Regions from separate parts of the Homo sapiens genome. Here region 1 is linked to region 2. The links are contacts of gene promoters, found by promoter capture Hi-C in human tissues and cell types (Jung and others, 2019). All regions are on one chromosome and are shown on one strand. Each heading gives the region's core, a stretch centred on a gene start or on the middle of the fragment in contact. The rest is flanking DNA. Distances are from core to core; before and after follow the strand shown.

Region 1 (6,571 bases), core at 1,958-4,457, 36 kb after region 2:
AAAAATATTCCAAGAAATAGAATGGGTAAGATGGCACAGATTTCTTCTTTCAACAACAAAAAAATACTAGGCAAAGCAACAACAACAACAAAGTAAACTAACCATGATTTTGAGAAATAGAAGCACAGGGTTGAGACATTGTGATTACACAGAGGAAAATCAATCACAGCATACTACTTGGCTCTGCTGTGGACCAACATTTTCATAATGTTAATGCTGCTTATTGGTTATTGTCTATTAGAACCAACTTATGGAAGACAGGCCAGGCGCGGTGGCTCACGCCTGTAATCCCAGCACTTTGGGAGGCCAACGAGGGCAGATCACGAGGTCAAGAGACTGAGACCATCCTGGCCAACATGGTGAAACCCTGTCTCTATTAAAAATATGAAAATTAGCTGGGTGTGGTGGCACATGCCTATAGACCCAGCTACTCGGGAGGCTTGAGGCAGGAGAATCACTTGAATCTGGGAGGCGGAGGTTGCACTGAGCTGAGATCACGCCACTGCACTCCAGCCTGGCAAGAGAGTGAGACTCTGTCAAAAAAAAAAAAAAAAAGCAAAGAAAGAGAGAGAGAGGGAGGGAGGGAGGGGGAGAGAGAGAGAGAGAGAGGGAGAGAGAGAGAGAAAGAAGAAAGAAAGAAAAAAATAGTTACTGAAGGGAATATAAATGTTGTCAGTCATGGATATCTAGGAGAGTACAGCTTTGAAAAGTTTGGAGGTAGAGGGGTTTGAGGCTGCAATGAGCTATGATTGCACCAGAGGTACTCCAACCTGGGCAACAGAGGGAGGCCTCATTTCTAAAAAATAAGAAGTTTGGAGGTAGAAGCAAAGGTGGGGAGTTCAAGAGAAATAGGAGTTCAAATCTCCTGTCACAAAATGGAGAGCCAAGAGGTGCTGTCTGTATTTAATAGAACTAAAAACAAAAGTTTAAGGATATCAAAATTACTAGAGTGGACAATAGGACTAAAAATTGTGATGTTAACTATCATGTGCACCTTAGGGGGGTGAATTAAGCTGACTTTTTATCAGTCCTTGCAAGAGTCAATAGTGTCACAAAATAGCAGCTTAATCCTATTCATACAGTTGAAGATCATCAGGAGAATTTAAAACCACAAAGGTCAAAGTGGTTGCCCTTTGGAAGTGGGACTGAGGCTGGGGAGATAAAAAGCAAGGAACAATTGCTTTTTGTTCTAGGTCTTCCTCTACTCTTAACCTTTTTTTTTTTCTTTTTTTTACATTGACAAAACAAAAACCAAACATAACAATCCTGGTAGGTATCAGAGATAATCTATTTTAATGTCTGGAAATATATTCGGTGAGTCATCTTGTGGCTATTAGGGGGAGGATTTGCTCCTAGTGTTAATGGATCTCCAACCTCCCCCACACCATTTTTTCCCTTCCTTGGGGAGACTAGATGGTTCATGCCGACAGCTGCCCTGCCCTGCTGATGGTTCTCTGGTCATTCCAGCTGTGGCAGTCTCTCACTGCCTGCCTCTTCTCAGGATGCCACCTCTGCTGCCGGTGTGGGTGGGTGGGTGTGGTGCCCCCCCATCCTGCTGCTGCTGCTGTTACCAGTTTCTCCCTCAACTGTTGCCAAAACACATCACGTGGCATTTTATTATTATAAATTGATTGATAAAAGTTCAAATGTATGAACTTAAAAGTTTACTATTTAGCTGATAATTATATAATTACTTGTAATTAAAATTTTGCTTTTTCTGAGTTTTATACCGTAGAACCACTTTAAAAATAATTTTTCCTTAAAAATAATGTATGCTCATTATAGAATATTTGAAAAACAAAATTGCTCCATTCCTCTTCATCAGCTTGGGGTACAAAAAGAAATTTCATTTGGTCAATATTAAATTAGATGGCTATATAGGCTGAGTAGGGTGGTTGATGCCTATAATCCCAGCACATTGGGAGGGAAAGGCGGGCAGATCATCTGAGGTCAGGAGTTGGAGAGCAGCATGGCCAACATGGTGAAACCCCGTCTCTACTAAAAATACAATTAGCCGGCTGTGGGGAGGCGGAGCTTGCAGTGAGCCAAGATCACACCACTGTGCTCCAGCCTGGGCAACAGGGCAAGACTCTGTCTCAAAAAAAAAAAAAAAAAAAAAAAAAAATTAGCCGGGTGTGGTGGCGCGCGCCTGCAGTCTGAGCTGCTTCGGAGGATTCTCCCGAGGCAGGAGAATTGTTTGAACCCAGGAGGCGGAAGTTGCAGTGAGCCGAGATCAGGCCACTGCACTCCAGCCTGGGTGACAGAGTGAGACTCTGTCTCAAAAAGTAAAAAAATAAAAATAAGTAAATAATTAAATAATTAAATAAAAAGACGGCACTGAGTCCAATATACCACTGTTAAAGCTTCTCTTTAAGGTCTCTCTTTCCTTCAGTGCTTTGGCCTGAAATAACTCCTAACTCCCCAGGGATGCTTACGCTTTCTCTTCCTAAGGTGTCACTCTGGCCAGAAATGTGGAAGTCATCCTGAACTCTTTCCTCCTTATTCTTCATATTTACTTAATACTAAGTCCTTGGAGAATTAAGCACCTCGCCCAGGTCACAAAGCATCCACTTAGTGCGCCTTAGGAGCCAAAATCTAGTGCTTAGGAGGCTTGGGCTAAAGCACACTGTTTTTTAATTTAATTTAATTTAAATTTTTTTTTTACTGCTCCTTGCAGAGCAGGAGTACCCCATAGGCAGTATGCCCAGAGTAGCCAAGCACACTATTCTTAGGTAGGGTTATGCTTATTGTGGGTGGCAATAAGCCTTCTTAATGGAAGATGTGGATGGAATAAAGCTGCCTCAGGTGCCCCCAACAGCTCCCACCCCGGAAACTTCTCTTGGCATTGTTGCCATCATTAGGTACTAAGTGGTAAAAGTAGCATTCACTTCCTCCGTGAGTTTGATGTCAAACTTTTTTTCTTATTTTGTTTTTTTTCAAAACTTTATTAATAAAATTTCCAAGTAATCAAAAAAGTTGAAAGAATAGGATAGTAACATTCATATATTTATCACCAGGCTGAAACAACCATTAATATTTGCTATACTTATTTATCAGGTTGAAGTATATGAAATGATAATAAAAAGGCCGGGCGCGGTGGCTCATGCCTGTAATCCCAGCATTCTGGGAGGCTGAGGCGGGCGGATCACTAGGTCAGGAGATCGAGACCATCCTGGCTAACACGGTGAAACCCCGTCTCTACTAAAAAAATATCAAAAATTAGCCGGGCGTGGTGGTGGGCGCCTGTCGTCCCAGCTACTCGGGAGGCTGAGAGGCAGGAGAATGGCATGAACCCGGGAGTCGGAGCTTGCAGTGCACCGAGATCACGCCACTGCACTCCAGCCTGGGCGACACAGCGAGACTCCGTCTCAAAAAAAAAAAACAAAGAAATTATAATAAAAATTGAATAGAAACAATTTCATGTAGTTCAATTTACTGTACATGTGTTGTTCAACAATTTGAAGATTTCTTTCAGATACACATGACACTTCAGAGTGTATCTTCTAAGAATAAGGTTGTGCTTCGGCCGGGCGCGGTGGCTCACGCCTGTAATCCCAGCACTTTGGGAGGCCGAGACGGGCGGATCACGAGGTCAAGAGATCGAGACCATCCTGGCTAATACGGTGAAACCCCGTCGCTACTAAAAATACAAAAAAATTAGCTGGGCCTGGTGGTGGGCGCCCGTAGTCCCAGCTACTCCGGAGGCTGAGGCGGGAGAATAGTGTGAACCCGGGAGGCAGAGATTGCAGTGAGCCGAGATCGCGCCACTGCACTCCAGCCTGGACGACAGGGAGACTCGAAAAAAAAAATGAAGGTTGTGCTTCTACAAAACACATATTATTATTATTACACCTAAGAAAGCAATTCCCTAAAATAATCTAATATCCAGTCTATGTTCAGATTTCCCCAAGTGCCCACAAAATGTCTTTTATAGCCCTTCTTTTTCTGATTCAGAATCCAATTAAGATTCATGCATTGCACTTGATTATGCCTTCTTTTATTCTACATTATCCCCCAAAATACCCTTTTGTTAAAAATGACATTGACTTTTTAAATGGATGGAGCCAGTTGTCTTGTAGAATGTAGATTGCCCTTTATTTTTTTCTGGACTATCTTTTCAAGGATGTTTAGATAAAACAGCCTTAGATGGTGAAGATAGCATCTCCCTCTACAGCAAAGTAATTTAAAATGTTTTTATTGTAAAGAGCATATAAAATTTGCCATTGTTAATTGTAGAGTTCAGTAGTGTTAAGTATATTCACATTGTTGTGGAACCAATCTACGAAATGTTTTCATCTTGCAAAACTGAAACTCTATACCCATTAAACAACACCTCTCCATTTCCCTCTCCCTCCAGCTCCTGGCAACTACTATTCTGACTTTCTGTTTCTATGAATTTGAGCACTCTAGGGAACCTCACATGAGAGAAATCACACAGTATTTGTCTTTTTGTGACTGGTTTATTTCACTTAGCATGATGTCCTCAACGTTCATTCATGTTGTACCATGTGTCAGAATGTCCTTTCTTTCTAAGGCTGAGTAATATTCCATTGTGTATTTACAACATACATATTGTATGTTGCAAATATGCCACATTTTTCTTATGCATTCATTCATCAATAAACATTGGTAATGCTTCCATCTCTTGGCTATTGTGAATAATGCTGCTATGAACATGGCTGTAAAATATTTCTTTGAGATCCTGTTTTCAATACTTTTGGCTATATACTCAGAAGTGGAATTGCTGGATCATATGGTTATTTCTATTTTTAGTTTTTTTGAGAAACCGCCATGCTGTTTTTCATAGCATTACACCATTATACATTCACACCAACAGTGTACAAGACAGTGCACTCTGTTGGCCAGGCTGGAGTGCAATGGCACAATCTTGGCTCACTGCAACCTCCGCCTCCTGGGTTCAAGCAATTCTCCTGCCTCAACCTCCCGAATAGCTGGGACTACAGGTACATGCCACCACGCCCAGCTAGTTTTTTGTATTTTTAATACAGACGAGTTTTCACCATGTTAGCCAGGATGGTTTCGATCTCCTGACGTCGTGATCCACCCTCCTCGGCCTCCCAAAATGCTGAGATTACAGGCATGAGCCACCACACCCAGCGTAACTTGTATTTTTAGTAGAGACAGGATTTTACCATGTTGGCTAGGCTGGTCTTGAACTCCTGCCTCAAGTGATCTGCCCGCCTCGACCTCCCAAAGTGCTGGGATTACAGGTGTGAGCCACTGCGCCCAGCCTCATTGTGTTTTTGGTTTGTATTTCCCTAATCATTAGTGAAGTGCTTGTGGGCATGTGTATATCTTCTTTGGGGCAATGTCTTTTCAGATCTTTTGCTCATTAAAAAAATTGAGTTGTTTTGTGAGCCATAGGAGTTCATTATATATTTTTATATGAACCCCTTGTCGGATGTTTGATTTACAAATATTTTTTCTCATTCTGTGCATTGCCTTTTAACTCTGTTGATTGTGTCTTTTCATACACAGATCAATTCAGATTTTAACAATACATATTAGCTTCTATAATTTGATATATGAACACTTTTTCTCACACTGATCACCTTAGTTTCTAATAATATCAAAATATTTGCTTTGTCCTAAAACATACACAAAATAGTCACAAAATCAAAGTGCTATCTTTACTACTAAAAATAAGATACAGTATGAAGTTCGATATGTTTTTGAAATTCTTTTTGTCCTTAGAATATACAGTAGTAAGATGTATATCTTACACAGTGTTCAAAATTCATTCCAAATTTTTGTCTCTGTGTGGCTATATTATCAATTCAACACAGAGTTTGGGTAATTTGTTTCAGTCTGTTTTTAATTTTACTGTTAGCTTCTTTTTTCTTTTCTTTTCTTTTTTTTTTTTTTGAGATGGAATCTCTCACTGTCACCCGGGCTGGAGTGCAATGGCGTGATATCGGCTCACTTCAACCTTTGCCTCCCAGGTTCAAGCAATTCTCCTACCTCAGCCTACCGAGTAGCTGGGATTACAGGCATGTGCCACTATGCCTGGCTAATTTTTTGTAATTTTAGTAGAGATGGGGTTTCACTATGTTGGCCAGGCTGGTCTTGAACTCCTGACCTCGTGATCCACCTGCCTTGGCCTCTCAAAGTGCTGGGATTACAGGCATGAGCCACCATGCCCAGCACTGGTTTTTCCTTGAATATGTAAAATGGTTACATGGATTAAAAAGAAAATCTCTATACAAAGATATATTCAGAAAAGTCTTGCTTCCATTCCTATCTCTTTTAGCCCATTCCACAAACTTCTACCCCAGAGGTTTTTTATTTGACCTTCAGTATACATTTATGCACAAATAAGCTATATATTTATATGTTTATATTTATATTCTTATTTCCCCCCATTCCTTACACAAAATATAAAAATACTGGTATCTTGAAGCACTTTACTTTAAATGCATGAATCTTAAACTCTCTTTCTACTTAAAAAAATCTGCAAATAAGGGTCATAATAACCTCATAAACTTAAGAAATTTCTGATTCTAAATGGTAAATTATGAATACCTATTTAAGATGGCAATGAAGGATATTC
Region 2 (6,185 bases), core at 2,518-5,017:
GAATCCTAGTGTAAATTGGTGAATGGAAATTAGACTAGATAATTCTACTGGCAGTGAAATTGGATGATCACCTTAAAGTCTTCTTTGAAACTTTGGATGGATTTAATTAGTATTGCTAGAAGTAACTATTTGACAAGATTGGTTGGTCTCACTCTGTCATGTAGGCTGGAGTGCAGTGGCGTGATCACTGTTCTCTGTAGCCCCAACCTCTCGGGCTCAAGTAATTCTCCCACCTCAGCCTCCAGAGTAGCTGGGACAACAGGTACATGCCACCACACCTGGCTAATTTTTTATTTATTTTATTTTTTGAGACGGGGTCTTACCCAGCCTGTGCAGTGGCATCATCTTGGCTCACTGAAGCCTCCACCTGGGTTCAAGTGATCCTCCTGCCTCAGCCTCCCAAGTAGCTGGGACCACAGGCACGTGCCATCACAGCCGGCTAGTACATTCTATTTTTGGTAGAGACAGGGTTTTGCCATGATGCCCAGGCTGGTCTTGAACTCTTGAGCTCAAGCGATCCACCTGCCTTGGCCTCCCAAATAATTTCTTATTTATTGTGGCGATGGAGTCTTGCTGTTTTGCCCAGGCTGGTCTAAAAGTACTGGGCTCATGCAAACCTCCTGCCTTGGTTTCCCAAATTGTTGTGATTACAGCCATGAGCCACTGCACCTGGCTGACAATATAAGTTCTTAGAAAATTTTATACCTCTGGTAACATATAAGTAAATACTTGTGCTACCTTTTTAAAAATGAAGTGATAGAGTCAAAGACCTGCAAATCACATATTTAAAAATTTTTTTTTAAATGAGGTACAGTTTACAAACTGTAATGCACAGATCTTCAGTCAGACAAGTTTTAACAAATGCTTAGTAAATCCATGTAACTCACACTCCAAACAGTAGAACATATCTGTCGCCCCCTAAAAGTTTCCTGGTGCCTCTTTCCTGTCATCGCTCTCCAAAGGCCACCACTGTGCTTTGATTTCCATTACCAGATATTAGTTTTGCTGTCAAATGGTATATTCTGCATACCGGATATTAGTTTTGCTGTCAAATGGTATATTCTGCATAAAAGAAAAGCAAGTGTTAAACCATACTGCATAGTTACTCAATTTAACAAGCACAGCTGTTAAGGTGGAATCTATCCTCTCATATATTCCCAAAAACTTAAAACTCTTTTTTAAATTTTAGTTTTAGATTTGGGGGTGCATATGCAGGTTTGTTACAAGGGTAATTGCATGTTGCTGAGGTTTGGGCTTCTATTGATCCTGTCACCTAGATAATGAACATAGTACTGAGAGGTGACAGCGTGCTGGCAGCCCTCACAGCCCTCGCTGGCTCTCAGCACCTCCTCTGCCTGGGCTCCCACTTTGGCGGCACTTAAGGAGCTCTTCAGCCCGCTGCTGCACTGTGGGAGCCCCTTCCTGGGCTGGGCTGGCTGAGGCTGGAGCTGGCTCCCTCAGCTTGCGGGGAGGTGTGGAGGGAGAGGCGCTGGCGGGAACCGGGGCTGCGCACGGTGCTTGCGGGCCAGCACGAGTTCCGGGTGGGTGTGGGCTCGGCGGGCCCGCACTCGGAGCGGCCGGTGGGCCCTGCCGGCCCCGGGCAATGAGGGGCTTAGCACCTGGGCCAGCAGCTGCAGAAGGTGTGCTGGGTCCCCCAGCAGTGCCGGCCCACCGGCGCTGCGCTCAATTTCTCGCAGGGCCTTAGCTGCCTCCCTGAGCAGGGCAGGGCTCGGGACCTGCAGCCCGCCATGCCTGAGCCTCCCCCACCTTCCATGGGCTCCTGTGAGGCCCGAGCTCCCTGACGAGCACCACCCCCTGCTCCACAGCGCCCAGTCCCATCGACCACCCAAGGGCTGAGGAGTGCGGGCACAGGGCGCGGGACTGGCAGGCAGCTCCACTTGCAGCCCCGGTGCGGGATCCACTGGGTGAAGCCAGCTAGGCTCCTCACTGGTGGGCACTTGGAGAACCTTTATGGCTAGCTAAGGGATTGTAAATACACCAGTCGGCACTCTATCTGGCTCAAGGTTTGTAAACACACCAATCAGCACCCTGTGTCTAGCTCAGGGTTTGTGAATGCACCAATGGACACTGTATCTAGCTACTCTTGTGGGGACTTGGAGAACCTTTGTGTGGACACTCTGTATCTAGCTAATGTAGTGGGGACGTGGAGAACCTTTGTGTCTAGCTCAGGGATTGTAAATGCACCAATCAGCGCCCTGTCAAAACAGACCACTCCGCTCTCTGTAAAATGAACCAATCAGCAGGATGTGGGTGGGGCCAGATAAGAGAATAAAAGCAGGCTGCACGCGCCGGCAGTGGCAACCCGCTGGGGTTCCCTTGCAAAGCGTGGGAGCTTTGTTCCTTGGCTCTTTGCAATAAATCTTGCTGCTGCTCACTCTTTGGGTCCACACTGCCTTTATGAGCTGTAACACTCACTGCGAAGGTCTGCAGCTTCACTTCTGAAGCCAGCGAGACTACGGACACACTGGGAGGAACGAACAACTCCAGACGCGCCGCCTTAAAAGCTGTAACACTCATGGCGAAGGTCCGCAGCTTCACTCCTGAACCAGCGAGACCACGAACCCACCAGAAGGAAGAAACTCTGAACACATCCGAACATCAGAAGGAACAAACTCCGGACAGGCCGCCTTTAAGAACTGTAACACTCACCGCGAGGGTCCGCAGCTTTATTCTTGAAGTCAGAAAGACCAAGAACCCACCAATTCCGGACACAGTACCCAATAGGATGTTTTTCAGCCCTTGCCCCTTTCTCTCCCTCCCTTGACTTGGAGTCTCCAGTGTTTGTTGTTGCCATCTTTATGTCCATGAGTACCCGTTGTTTAAGCTCCCACTTATAAGTGAGAACATTCGGTGTTTGGTTTTCTGTTCCTATGTTAATTCACTTAGGATAATGTCCTCCAACTGCATCCATGTTGCTACAGAGGACGTGATTTTGTTCTTTTTTTATGGCTGTTTAGTATTTCGTGGTGTGTATGTACCACATTTTCTTTACCCAGTCTACTGTTGATGGGCACCTAGGTTGATTCCATGTCTTTGCTATTGTAAATAGTACTGTGATAAACATAGTGCGGGTGTCTTTTTGGCAGAATGATTTATTTTCCTTTGGGCATACACCCAGTAATGGGATTGCTGGGTCGAATGATCTTTCTGTTTTTAGTTGAGAAATCTCCAAACTGCTTTCCACAGTGGCTGAACTAATTCACATTCCTATAAAAAGAACTTTAACACTTGCAGAGTAGAGTTTTTAAAATGTTTAGTTATTTTTAATACCAATTCTGACCCCAGGGAAAGAAAATGGAGATGCACTTTACCTGAACTATGTTCTTTTGAAACTCTTCAGTGACATTTGGGAAAGCAAGTTTACAGCCCACATGCTGTGCCGCTTCAAGGACTTATTTTTGTGGTCTCCCTGAAGAAAATGACACTAGAGTAGAAGTGATTGAATGTGAAGTGTCAGGAGATTGCTCGCTCGTCCTTCGTTAAACCCCTGGTCCGGCTGTGTGCTGTGGATGCGGGTGTGTGTTGAGGGGACCTGCGTCTGCCGGGGCCGCACCCCCTCCCGCAGGACCTTGGCTGGCCGCGCGTTTCCTGCCTGTTTCCTGTCCAGCAGCTGGCGAGCTGGGGACCGGCAGGAAAGGATGCGCTGCCCAGAAGGGGCGGGAACCGACCACGCCCGGTCCCGTGTGCCCCCCGCCCTCCCGGCGCCCGCCCTCCCCACGCCGTCGGGGGCGGGCCCCGCGGGGCTGTGGGAGCCGAACGCCGCGGGGTCAGGGCGTGCAGTCTGGGACGCGGGATGCTTGGCGCTCTACCTCGCCGCCCCTGAGCCTTCCCGTCCGCCTCGCCACGCGCCCGGACGGCCTGGGGTTGCTGCCCGTCAGTCTCGAAAGGTAAGAAGCGCCCTCCGCATCCTGGTGTTCGCGCCCGTGCCGCGAGACTCTTGGAGGCTCCTCTGGGGTCGGGAAATGCCTCCGGACTCTGCCACCTCACCGCAGCCTGAAGGCGCAGGTGGACGGTGGCGGCCCCTCCCCACACCCGCCTCGGCCCCAGGGGACGCTTTTAAGGGGTATTGGTCTCCACACTTCGGAGTCCCGAATTTAAGTGAACCTGGCTCTGCCTTGGCTCAGATGTTGCCGAGTGACTGAGACTGGCCACAGAACCTTGAAAAATCGCGTCTTGAGCTACTGTTTCTTTCCAAAAAGAAATCCTTTCTGATATACAAAAAGTATGAAATACAAGGATTAAATTAAATTAAAGACGGTCCTCATTAAGGAGGGCTTTAAGCTGACGACGCGAGGGGTAGACTTCCAGGCGTGAACTGGGCTTGCGGGCATTTGGGAAGCTGAGTAGATGGGGCGAGCCAGGGCGTCCCAGGAACGCTGCACCCAACCTGTGGGACCAGGGCAGAGCAAACTCGAATGAACAGATAAATGAAGCCTGTTTACACGAGCTGCTTTAGAACTAGAGATTTCCTCCCAATAAATACTATTGGTATATATACACACAAGCATGTGCATGTTGGTCAGAAGGGACAAAATAACTGCTTCGTTTTCCATTTTATTCTTTCACGAATCATTGGTCCCATGGACATTAGTGTAATTCATTTACTTTTTCTGCAGCTATGAAGGGAGATTTAGAAGCGTTTGTCCTAGCTGGTTTCAGCAAAAACATGGGGTCTCAGGTTGGGTGATGCTGTTAGCCATTGAGAATATTCACAACTTTTCCCCACCTTCTCAGCTGATGCATTTAGAATTTGTCTCTAAAGTTTACATACAAGAATGCTAGGTAGAAGTATTTTCAAATGTGTATAAAATATATCTAAGTTCTTAATTTCTTAGAACAATTCTCAATGCAAACATTGTAAGAAGTCAGTCGAGGTATTGAGAACAACATGTTGAAAGAAAATAAGCAAGGTAGAAAGAAATTAAAGAGACATATTATGACTAATGTTATGATCATATTCCATATTATGATTGACAAGTAGGCTGGTCTGTTTTATAAGTCTTTTTCCATTCAGCTCTAAATATAGATTGTCTCACCATTCTATGTTTTACCGATCATTTTCATAAGAAAGAAAATGTGTTATAATCACTAAATCAGTAATGATTTGGGGCTTCAAAAATAAAAATGTTATTGTCGTGGAAGCAAACAAATCTGAGAGAAGCCAGTTCAACTTTTGGGAGCTTGCTTCTTCTTAGTTTGGTTACCAGGTCTCAGTGACTTAAAAGAAGCATTGTAATTGTCTTAAGTGCTCACACTTGCCCAAGTGATGTGATGTGTTCTGCAAGGATCTTACTGGCTGACTTTGCCCAGGTTTCCCAGTCCATGTTCGAGGAAAGAATTGGGTCAAGTCTGTGGCTAATTCCACCCAAAACAATTTTCTTCTTCTTTCCTTTCTTTTCTTTTTTTTGGGTGGGGGTGGCGGGGAAGAGGAAGGAGCCCTAATCTGCATAGTTACACTTCAAATCTCTGTTTCCCTTTCAGGAAGTACAGTATTTCCTTTGTTCAGCAGCTCTTGCTGAAAGAAAGCTAATAAGACACACCAGTTTCCCTTCCATTGAATTCTGGCTTATTTCAATCAGTCTTCTTAATTCCACTAATTTGTGCTCTTATCTGAAAAGATGTAACATGTATTTGGAATATAATATACTTGCTTATTAAAATGATTAACTGTGGGCTGGGTGTGGTGGCTCACGCCTGTAATCCCAGCACTTTGGGAGGCCATGGTGGGCAGATCACGAGGCCAGACATCTGAGACCAGCCTGGCCAAAGTGGTGAAACACCGTTTCTACTAAAAATACAAAAATTAGCCAAGCGTGGTGGTGCACACCTATAATCCCCGCTACTCAGAAGCCTGAGGTGGGACAATCACTTGAACCTGGGAGGTGGAGGTTGCAGTGAGCCAAGATCATGCCACTGCACTCCAGGCTAGGTGACAGAGCAAGACTCTGTCTAAAAAAAAAAAAAAAAAAAAAAAAAAAATGTGAATAATGGGGGGGACCTTAAACATTAAGAAAGTACATATTTGGTTATATTTAATATTAATACATAGTTTGCTAGACTCTAGTATGAAAGAACTGTCTTAAATGCCCAGTATCTTATTCTATAGTTGAATAGTCTATATAAAAATAAGTGCCTTTTCCAGCCGGGTGCGGTGGCTTACGCCT

What was found. The method cuts DNA at HindIII sites, captures the fragments that hold promoters and counts their contacts. A contact is called where the count stands out against the background at its distance.
Region 1: a contact is called between a fragment that was not itself captured here and the fragment with the promoter of THSD1 in region 2, in 1 of the 25 tissues and cell types used here (heart left ventricle).

What each region holds. Positions count from the first base shown.
Region 1 is chr13:52,366,705-52,373,275 of GRCh38, reverse strand. No RefSeq gene overlaps it. Among named protein-coding and RNA genes, the nearest start is that of LINC02333, 36 kb to the right of the region's middle. The HindIII fragment of the contact is 4,395 bases long and covers 1,010-5,404 here.
Region 2 is chr13:52,403,754-52,409,938 of GRCh38, reverse strand. It overlaps THSD1 (thrombospondin type 1 domain containing 1), which reads left to right and starts at 3,767. Exons shown (of 5, transcript NM_018676.4): 1 at 3,767-3,908. RefSeq lists a silencer at 3,678-3,837. The HindIII fragment of the contact is 14,115 bases long and covers 1-6,185 here.